Regions from separate parts of the Homo sapiens genome. Here all the other regions are linked to region 2. Evidence: promoter capture Hi-C in 16 types of primary human blood cells and fetal thymus (Javierre and others, 2016). All regions are on one chromosome and are shown on one strand. The core of a region is centred on a gene start or on the middle of the fragment in contact, and the rest is flanking DNA. Distances in the headings are between cores, read along the strand shown.

The links. Contacts are between HindIII fragments. The CHiCAGO score rates a contact against its expected background, and 5 or more counts as called.
Region 1: a contact is called between a fragment that was not itself captured here and the fragment with the promoter of CYP7A1 in region 2, in 1 of 17 cell types (neutrophils). The highest score is 5.9, in neutrophils.
Region 3: a contact is called between a fragment that was not itself captured here and the fragment with the promoter of CYP7A1 in region 2, in 1 of 17 cell types (neutrophils). The highest score is 5.1, in neutrophils.

What each region holds. Positions count from the first base shown.
Region 1 is chr8:57,917,477-57,920,176 of GRCh38, forward strand. All of the region lies in intron 2 of LOC105375856 (a long non-coding RNA gene), which reads left to right. Among named protein-coding and RNA genes, the nearest start is that of LINC01602, 60 kb to the right of the region's middle. RefSeq lists enhancers at 1,409-1,921, 1,922-2,432. The HindIII fragment of the contact is 4,723 bases long and covers 1-2,700 here.
Region 2 is chr8:58,498,597-58,501,425 of GRCh38, forward strand. CYP7A1 (cytochrome P450 family 7 subfamily A member 1) reads right to left here and starts at 1,567. Exons shown (of 6, transcript NM_000780.4): 1 at 1,423-1,567. The coding sequence starts at 1,502. RefSeq lists a silencer at 1-1,445, a promoter at 1,543-2,829 and an enhancer at 1,777-1,998. The HindIII fragment of the contact is 6,882 bases long and covers 1-1,933 here.
Region 3 is chr8:57,565,223-57,568,012 of GRCh38, forward strand. No RefSeq gene overlaps it. Among named protein-coding and RNA genes, the nearest start is that of LINC03018, 180 kb to the right of the region's middle. The HindIII fragment of the contact is 1,085 bases long and covers 831-1,915 here.

The sequences.
Region 1 (2,700 bases), core at 49-2,548, 580 kb before region 2:
GGGTTGGGGTGAACCATCTTTGACCATGTGAATAAGGTCATCACGAGAAGGCTGGCAAAGCATTGAGACAGAAGGCACCTGGGCTCTATAATCCCTGTACTACCTACCTTCAGATCATTGCAGATTAGGGAGAAATAGTCTTCTCTCTTATTTAAGCCATTCTTAGGTGGGAATCTGTGTTACTGTAATTTAGCCTGTATCTTAACTAGTACATCAAACAAACGCTAACTAAAAGAAAGTAAGGTGGGCATAATAATAACAAACAAAACAGACTTTAGAGCAAAAAGGGATCAAAAGTCTCATAATGATATAAGGCTCATTTTACTGGAAGATATAACAATTCTAAAATAACATATGACTCAATTCTGCACTTACATAACTTAATGGAACTACAAGAAATAAATAAATCCATTATCCCAATGGAATACTTAATACCTCTCTCTCAGTACTCAATAGATAAAGCAGACAATAAAATTAGCCATAAAAGATTTAGAAAGAAAAATTAATATGTTTCATCCAATGGGCATATGGAGAATATTACATCCCATAATTAAATAATTTACATTCTTTTAAAGCACAAATAGAATAGTTTTGAAAACTGACTACATTCTAAACCATTAAGTTAACGTTAACAAATTTCAAAGGATGGCAAGATAGATACAGAGTGTATTCTCAGACCACAATGCAAATTAGTTACAAGTCAAAGACAAAATAAACCAAGAGAAAAAAACATGTTTACAAATCTGGCAAAATTCTAAACAAGTCAGAGATCAAAGAAGAATAATGCAAAGTATAAAACATTTATAAATGACCAGTGACTAAAATGTTTTCTAACAAAACTTGTGAAATGTAGCAAAAGCATTACTTAGTGACAAATCCATAGCCTTGTTAAAAGATAAGTGGCCAGGTGCGGTGGCTCACTCTTGTAATCCTAGCACTTTGGGAGGCCGAGGTGGGCAGATCACGAGGTCAGGAGTTCCATACCAGCCTGACCAACATGGTGAAACACAGTCTCTACTAAAAATACAAAAATTAGCCAGGCATGGTGGCACGTGCCTGTAATTCCAGCTACTCGGGAGGCTGAGGCAGGAGAATGGCTTGAACCCGGGAGGTGGAGGTGGCAAGGAGACGAGATCACGCCACTGCACTCTAACCTGGGCGACAGAGTGAGGCTCCGTCTCCAAAAAAAAAAAAAAAAAAAGAAAATTGTATTAGCACGTTTTCACGCTGTTGCTAAAGCATACCTGAGACTGGGCAATTTACAAAGGTAAGAGGTTTAATGAAGAACTCACAGTTCTACATGGCTGTGGAAGCCTCACAATCATGGCGGAAGAGAAGGAGGAGCAAATCACACCTTACGTGGACGGTAGCAGGCAAAAAGTGCTTGTGCAGAGGAACTCCTGTTTTTAAAACTATCAGATCTCATGAGACCCATTCACTATCAAGAGAACAGCACTGGAAAGACCTGCCCCCGTGATTCAATCATCTTTCACCAGGTCCCTCCCACAACACATGGGAATTATGGGAACTACAGGGTGAGATTTGGATGGGGACACAGAGCCAAACCGTATCAATAAGGTTCGTTAAAGGTAAAACCGTGATTCTCATACAGATATAAAACTGACTTGTGTTAAATATTTAATTCTTTAATCAGTAAGAAAACCAAGAAGATTCAAATGAGAATCCAAAGAACAGACACATTTTTAGATTAGGAATATTGAAAAGAATGTGTAAATTGACGTAAAACTTATTTTCCGGCCGGGCGCGGTGGGTCACGCCTTTAATCCCAACACTTTGGGAGGCCGAGGCGGGCGGATCACGAGGTCAGGAGATCGAGACCGTCCTGGCTAACACAGTGAAACCCCATCTCTACTAAAAATAAAAAAAAATTAGCCAGGCGTGGTTGCAGGCGCCTGTAGTCCCAGCTACTTGGGAGGCTGAGGCAGGAGAATGGCCTGAACCCGGGAGGCGGAGCTTGCAGTGAGCCGAGATCGCGCCACTGCACTCCAGCCTAGGCTACAGAGCTAGACTCCGTCTCAAAAAAAAAAAAAAAAAAAAAAGAAAAACAAACAAACAAAAAAACTTATTTTTCACAGAGGAGAAAGGAAGTTAAACCTCTACCAGGCAGAACAGAATCTGCATGTCTACAATCAAAAATTATTTTGCATTGCTATCAGTTACCTACAACTTGCAGAGTTGTAAAATAATTCCTAGTAAATGAAAGTATAGAATCAGATAACCCGGAAGGGTGTGCTATTTATAGACAATGCATAGGTTTCCATAGAAGGGCAATTTTTTTCTTAAAGTCACCCTCCTTCTGATCAAAAATACTAAAACAGAAGGATTATTCATGATCACAAAGCAAGGTTGGTCTCATTAGCTTTGGCCTTATTTACAGGGTTGTAGCAATAGTGTTGATTTACCATATAGGCCTATTAGAGTTTGTTTTGTTGCAATAAACTAAACACATAACTTATAATATTTCGGAGGAAAAAATTGCCCAGCAAGATAAACCCAAAAAAGTAAAAGATAAAGTATATAAAGAAAAGAGCAAAAAAAAAAAAAAATTAACTAAAATGCAAACAGAGAGTTTCTGCATCTGCCCAACTTGCAGAGAGCTGGAAGACCCTTGTTCCCCATTAGAACAAAATCAACCATGCTCACTTTAAATTCACGACTTTTTTTGAACCTACTGAACAA
Region 2 (2,829 bases), core at 317-2,816:
TTGGATGGGCCCTGCTCTTTTACTACAGTAATAGGTTATATTAACCTAGTAACATGATATGTTGGTGGAAAGGATTACTAAATCCATCCATTCATGCATCCGTCCATATACACATTCAACAAGCACCCGTCTACTATGTGCTCATCACTTTTCCCAGTGATACAGGCAAAAGGATTTACAAGACCAACAAGATTCTTGTTGTCAGTGCGGAAACAAAACTACATTCTAGTGTTTATCACTTTGCTAAGCATCATTTTTCTAAATATCTCAAAATGTTTCTTTTGATTATTTTCTTTAAAGACACAGATCACTGAATAAGGGAGGATTTCAGAACTGAGGTTTTGAAAATATTCCTAGTTTAAAGATATCTATATTATATTCTATAAGGATGGTTTCAGAGAAGAAGAATCTCATGTGAGAAATCAGCTTATTATAAAATGAAATTGAGTAAGATAAACACTGACGGAATCATCTATTGTAATTCAGTGCTCCTTTAAAATGTTTTTATTAGAACATGTAAACTTATTTTCCAACATAAACTTCTGTACCTCTTGATAGAATAATACAGTATAAAGTAATTACCTTTCTTTTCTTAGTTTGAAGATAAGTAGTTTAATTAAAAGTAAAAACTATCAGGCCTGAAAGAAACTGCAAAAGGCAGAAAACACATAGCAATCTACAAAGCTGAAAGATGGTTAGGGTTATTTTCTCTTTTTGAGATTGACATAGCAGAGAATATCTATATGCCTCCCCACAATTACTCCTTGAGCCAATTAGAAGTTAAATAAACTATGGTTCTGGATCTGACTGTATTTGTTTTTCTTGCATTCTTGAACCAGTTGTAAATAAATGAAATCGATGTCACATACACTCAGCAAACTTTCCCAATTCACCACAGTTGATTAACATTTATTTAAAAACAGTAATAGAATGATCAGCTCAGGCTCTATGCTCTTGTTCAGGCTTAGGCTGAGTCTATGCGATGCACAAGAATGAGCTTAAAAGAGAACATTTATTTAACAAGAGTATCTATTGAAGCCATGTGAGAGAAAGCAATCCTTTCCATTGTAGATTCCCACTTGCTACTTGTATCCTTACTAATCTGGGCTTCCTCTTTAGATACACATATAAATGTACATAGAGACCTTATACAATTTCTGTCAGTTATGTTTAACACCAATATACATTTATATATTACCATCGGTATATGCCAATACTAAAAAGGGAAGCTGTCATATGTCTTGTGAGATATAGTAAAAAAGATATTACTTTAAAAATTCAAATCAAATTTTTCATTTAAAAAATAAGGAAGATAATGCTAATATGTGTAAGTATAGAAAACCAAATTTACTGTATAAAAATGAAGGTAAAAAAATTAAATGGATGAATCAAAGAGCAATTTAAAGATAAAACATTACTTACCTTCTCCTAATTCCAAGAATAAGCCATAGACAACAGCATGCTGCTATAGCAATCCCCCAAATCAAAGATGTGGTCATCATTTTGCAAATCTAGGCCAAAATCTCTGAGGAAGAAAATCTCTGATTAGAAAGGGAAGGATGCCACTGAAAAGAGACTCAAGCTAGGCTTTTTATATACATAGTATCCAGATCCATTAACTTGAGCTTGGTTGACAAAGCAAACAATTAGCCATTTGTTCATTCTATTAGAAAAAAAAAAGTGGTAGTAACTGGCCTTGAACTAAGTCCACAGGTATCAGAAGTGGTTCCAAAGCAATCAGAGACCTGCAATACTTGATAAGTTGAAGGTCTCTCAAATATATGTTGACTTAACATTCGGACCTGGGGACAACAGCTAATATTAAGAGTTTGGTATGTGTAAAAAGAACAAATAAACCTGTTTAAGATGGGCATAGCTAATAAATACATAAACTATAATCATTTAAAGAAAGATAAGAATGAGTTATTCATCAAGCTTATAATTTGGTCTTGTTAACTTTTAAAGAAGAATTAATTTAGGTGCTTTGCCAGAGAGACGGTGATCAAGTTCAGAGGAAAGAGAACTGGGAAAAACATTTCTGCTGCTTCATGTTTCAGTGCTTTTATAAAATCATAGATATTTTACTACATATAGTAACATGTTACTCACCTAACATCCTCAAGAGAGTATTCTACATAAGTGCATCCTCTAGATAAATATAACTTATTGGAAGCATCAAAATTTTATCTATCATTCTTGTGACTAAAATGTTTATCAATGTTTCTAATTATTAAAGTAATAAATTTCATTTCAAGTAAGTTAAGACTAACTAAAACATATCTTGGTGGAAAGTGAACATCTATTAATAATTTACCTACCATGCTACTCCTTTACTCAGAAGTAACCACTAGTAACAATTTGGCATCTGTTCTTCCAAACTTTATTTCTGTGTACACAAAAATATTAGTTGAGTATTTATTACGTGCCAAGAACTCTTCAAAAGTATTCCAGTTGCAGGCATTAATAAGATAGGCAGATTTCCTAATCTAATGGAGATTCTATTCCAATGGAGAAAGGAGTAATAAAATACATGTTATGAAAAAAATAAAACATGGTATAGAAAGCTATGGGGGAATGAGGACAACTTTAGATATGATGATCAGAGATGGGCTCTCTGAAATTGTGACATTTGAGATCTGAATGACAAGAAGAGACTACTCATGTGAATATCAGAAGGAAGGATATTCCAGGAAGAGGAAGCAGCAAATGCAATGTCTTGAGTCAAGGATCAACTTGGTGAGTCTAAGAACCAAAAAGAAGGATGTATCCTACTGAAGCAGAGTGAATGAGAGTTCACAGAATTAAGACAAAAGAAGGTAGGCAACAGTA
Region 3 (2,790 bases), core at 123-2,622, 930 kb before region 2:
ACCTCTCTCTGTTTTAAACCCAGCATCTACTGGTACCCCTCTCTGTTTTAAACTGGAGGAAATTTGATGCCAAAATCACATTCACCTGATCTCCTTGATCTCCAATAAATACATGTCAGTTGATATAAACATTAGATGTGCATATGTTTCTTACTTTTTTTTTCTGAAGAGTAGTGTCTAAATCAATATAGTTTAGAAATTAAGGCCTTATGGTATATCCCCACCAAAGAACTACAAGGGAACAAGGCAAAGGTAGATAAAAATGCGACTGTGATGATGGCCTTCTGGTGGTGCACGTGAGCTTGCTTCCTGAGCAAGCATCCATGCTGGTTTCTGTCTGGGAGAACATGAGCTGGAAGGGACATTTGATCTTTCGTATAGAAGTCTGTTCCAGAGACAACAGGAACGCAAGCTAGTCATTGATCATGAAACCCACACATGCAAATTCTGAAGTTTGGGGAAGGTCTCAGAAAGAGGTGTCCAGGCCTGGGCATGGCAGTGCATTTGGCTGAGCTGGGTGTAACCAGGGGAGGGGGATGGCCCAGGCTGTGGTTCGCAGTCCTTTTGAGAGACAGAACCACACAGTGAGCTCTGCACCCAGAGACGGTAACTGCAGAGAGGACAGATGTCCTTGGTGTGGACATTCCATCTTCCTGTGGTTCCTTGGGTTTTGTTTGGTTCTATCTCCAAAACTATCTAACTTTTAATGTATTGCTGAAATCAATTATCTAGTCATTCATAGAAGGCTATCTTTCACATCTATGTTCAAGATGGGCTGGCATTTTTGGTTTTGAGCTTTTTTTTACTAAATTTTGAAATCATGATTGCAAAGCTTTGTGAGATCACACAGGACACTTTTCAACTAATTCTAAAATTTGATAATCTATAAAATAGGAGTGTGTTATATAGGAATAGGCATTTTCCAGAGAGTTTGAAAGTACTTGAGTAAATTTATCCAGATCCAAAAAAGCAAAACACAGCAAACAAGGAAAGTTGACAACTGGTCTTTCTTTTTGTATATTTTGCATATCTGGATTTATTTCTTTTGAAATATCATGATTTAAACTATAGATAACTAAGACCAGATGGCTGCTGTAATTTGTGACTTGACTTAAACTTCAAAGTAGGTAACATTAAAAACTCTGATTGTCAAAGTCTTTCAGCAAGTTTTGCCCCATATTAGGAAAAAGTAAAAAGATGTTAAATGTAATACAAAGATGCCCCAAGAAATCAGAAAAATAAAAATTAGAAATTTCAGGACTTTGATTAAAATGCATGTAAAAGTATTTTCTGATTATGTAAGTAACATATAGTCATCGTATTAAAAATATAAAAACTATACAGAAAAAAGGTCAAAAAAGACATGCAGACTAACCATAATTTTATCTCTCCAGTGAAAATGATTACTTATATTTTAAAGTATGTCTCTCCTTTTTATAAACATACAATAAATTGCTAATGCTGATATAGTGTAAAAAAGGATAAATATGTGAGGTAATGCATGTTAATTAGCTCAATTTAGCTATTCCACACGTATATATACATAATTTTTAACATCAAGTTGTACACAATAAATATAATTTTTATTTGTTAATTTAAAAATTCATTAATTTGAAAATATTCCCTTGGATAATACAAGAACTATAACAAAGAAAAACAAAAATCATTTAAAATTTTCTATACCAGAGATAATTCCTTTTATTTTAGATATTATTTGTAGACTTTCTGTATTTTTGTCTGCATAGGGCAGGGATTGACATACTTTTTCTATAAAGGGCCAGATACTAAATATTTCAGGCTTTCAGGCAGATTTTCTGTGTCAACTGGAAAATCATGAGATCCATAAATTTAGAAAGGAAACTTTATTTCTTATAAAGGGTTACAGCCTGCAGGGCGGCTATCCCACAGGCTGAGAAGCTTGCTCTAAGGCAGAGCCTGAAAGACAGGAACATCTAGGGAAGGAATTGTCCCATAGAAAGCTTACATTCTACCCAAGTCTATGAGAATGACTACTTCCCCACATGTTCAGCACCTCCTTAATCCATCATCATTTATTTTTTTGTTTAGTTTGTGTTCTCCACCAATGATATTAATTTTTTCATGCTCATAGGCTATTTAATTTCTTCCTTGGTGAATTTTCTCTTTTTTTTTCTTTTATAATTGTTCTTATTGGTAGTGTTCATTTTTTCCTATTGATTGATGGGAGATTTTATACATATTAAGACTAAAATTTCCTTGACATGTGTGTTGTAAATGCTCCTTTTGTTGTTTCCTTTACATATAATTGATGGGCTTTTATTTTAATTTTAAAAACTGATTTTAATGTAATCCAGTAAATAATATTTTATAATTTTGCATTTTTCCTTATTCAACAAAAGAACTTTCTTAACTGTACCTTCAAGGCTATGATTTTTTTTTTTTTAAATTTTTACTCTATCTGAAATTTAAAATTAAATTAGGATTTAATTATATGTATTTGGTTTTCAAATGGGTAAATTCCTCGACACATACATTCTCCCAAGACTAAACCAGGAAGAAGTTGAATCTCTGAATAGACCAATAACAGGCTCTGAAATTGAGGCAATAATTAATAGCTTACCAACCAAAAAAAGTCCAGGACCAGACGGATTCACAGCCGAATTCTACCAGAGGTACAAGGAGGAGCTGGTACCATTCCTTCTGAAACTATTCCAATCAATAGAAAAAGAGAGAATCCTCCCTAACTCATTTTATGAGGCCAGTATCATCCTGATATCAAAGCCTGGCAGAGACACAACAATAAAAGAGAAT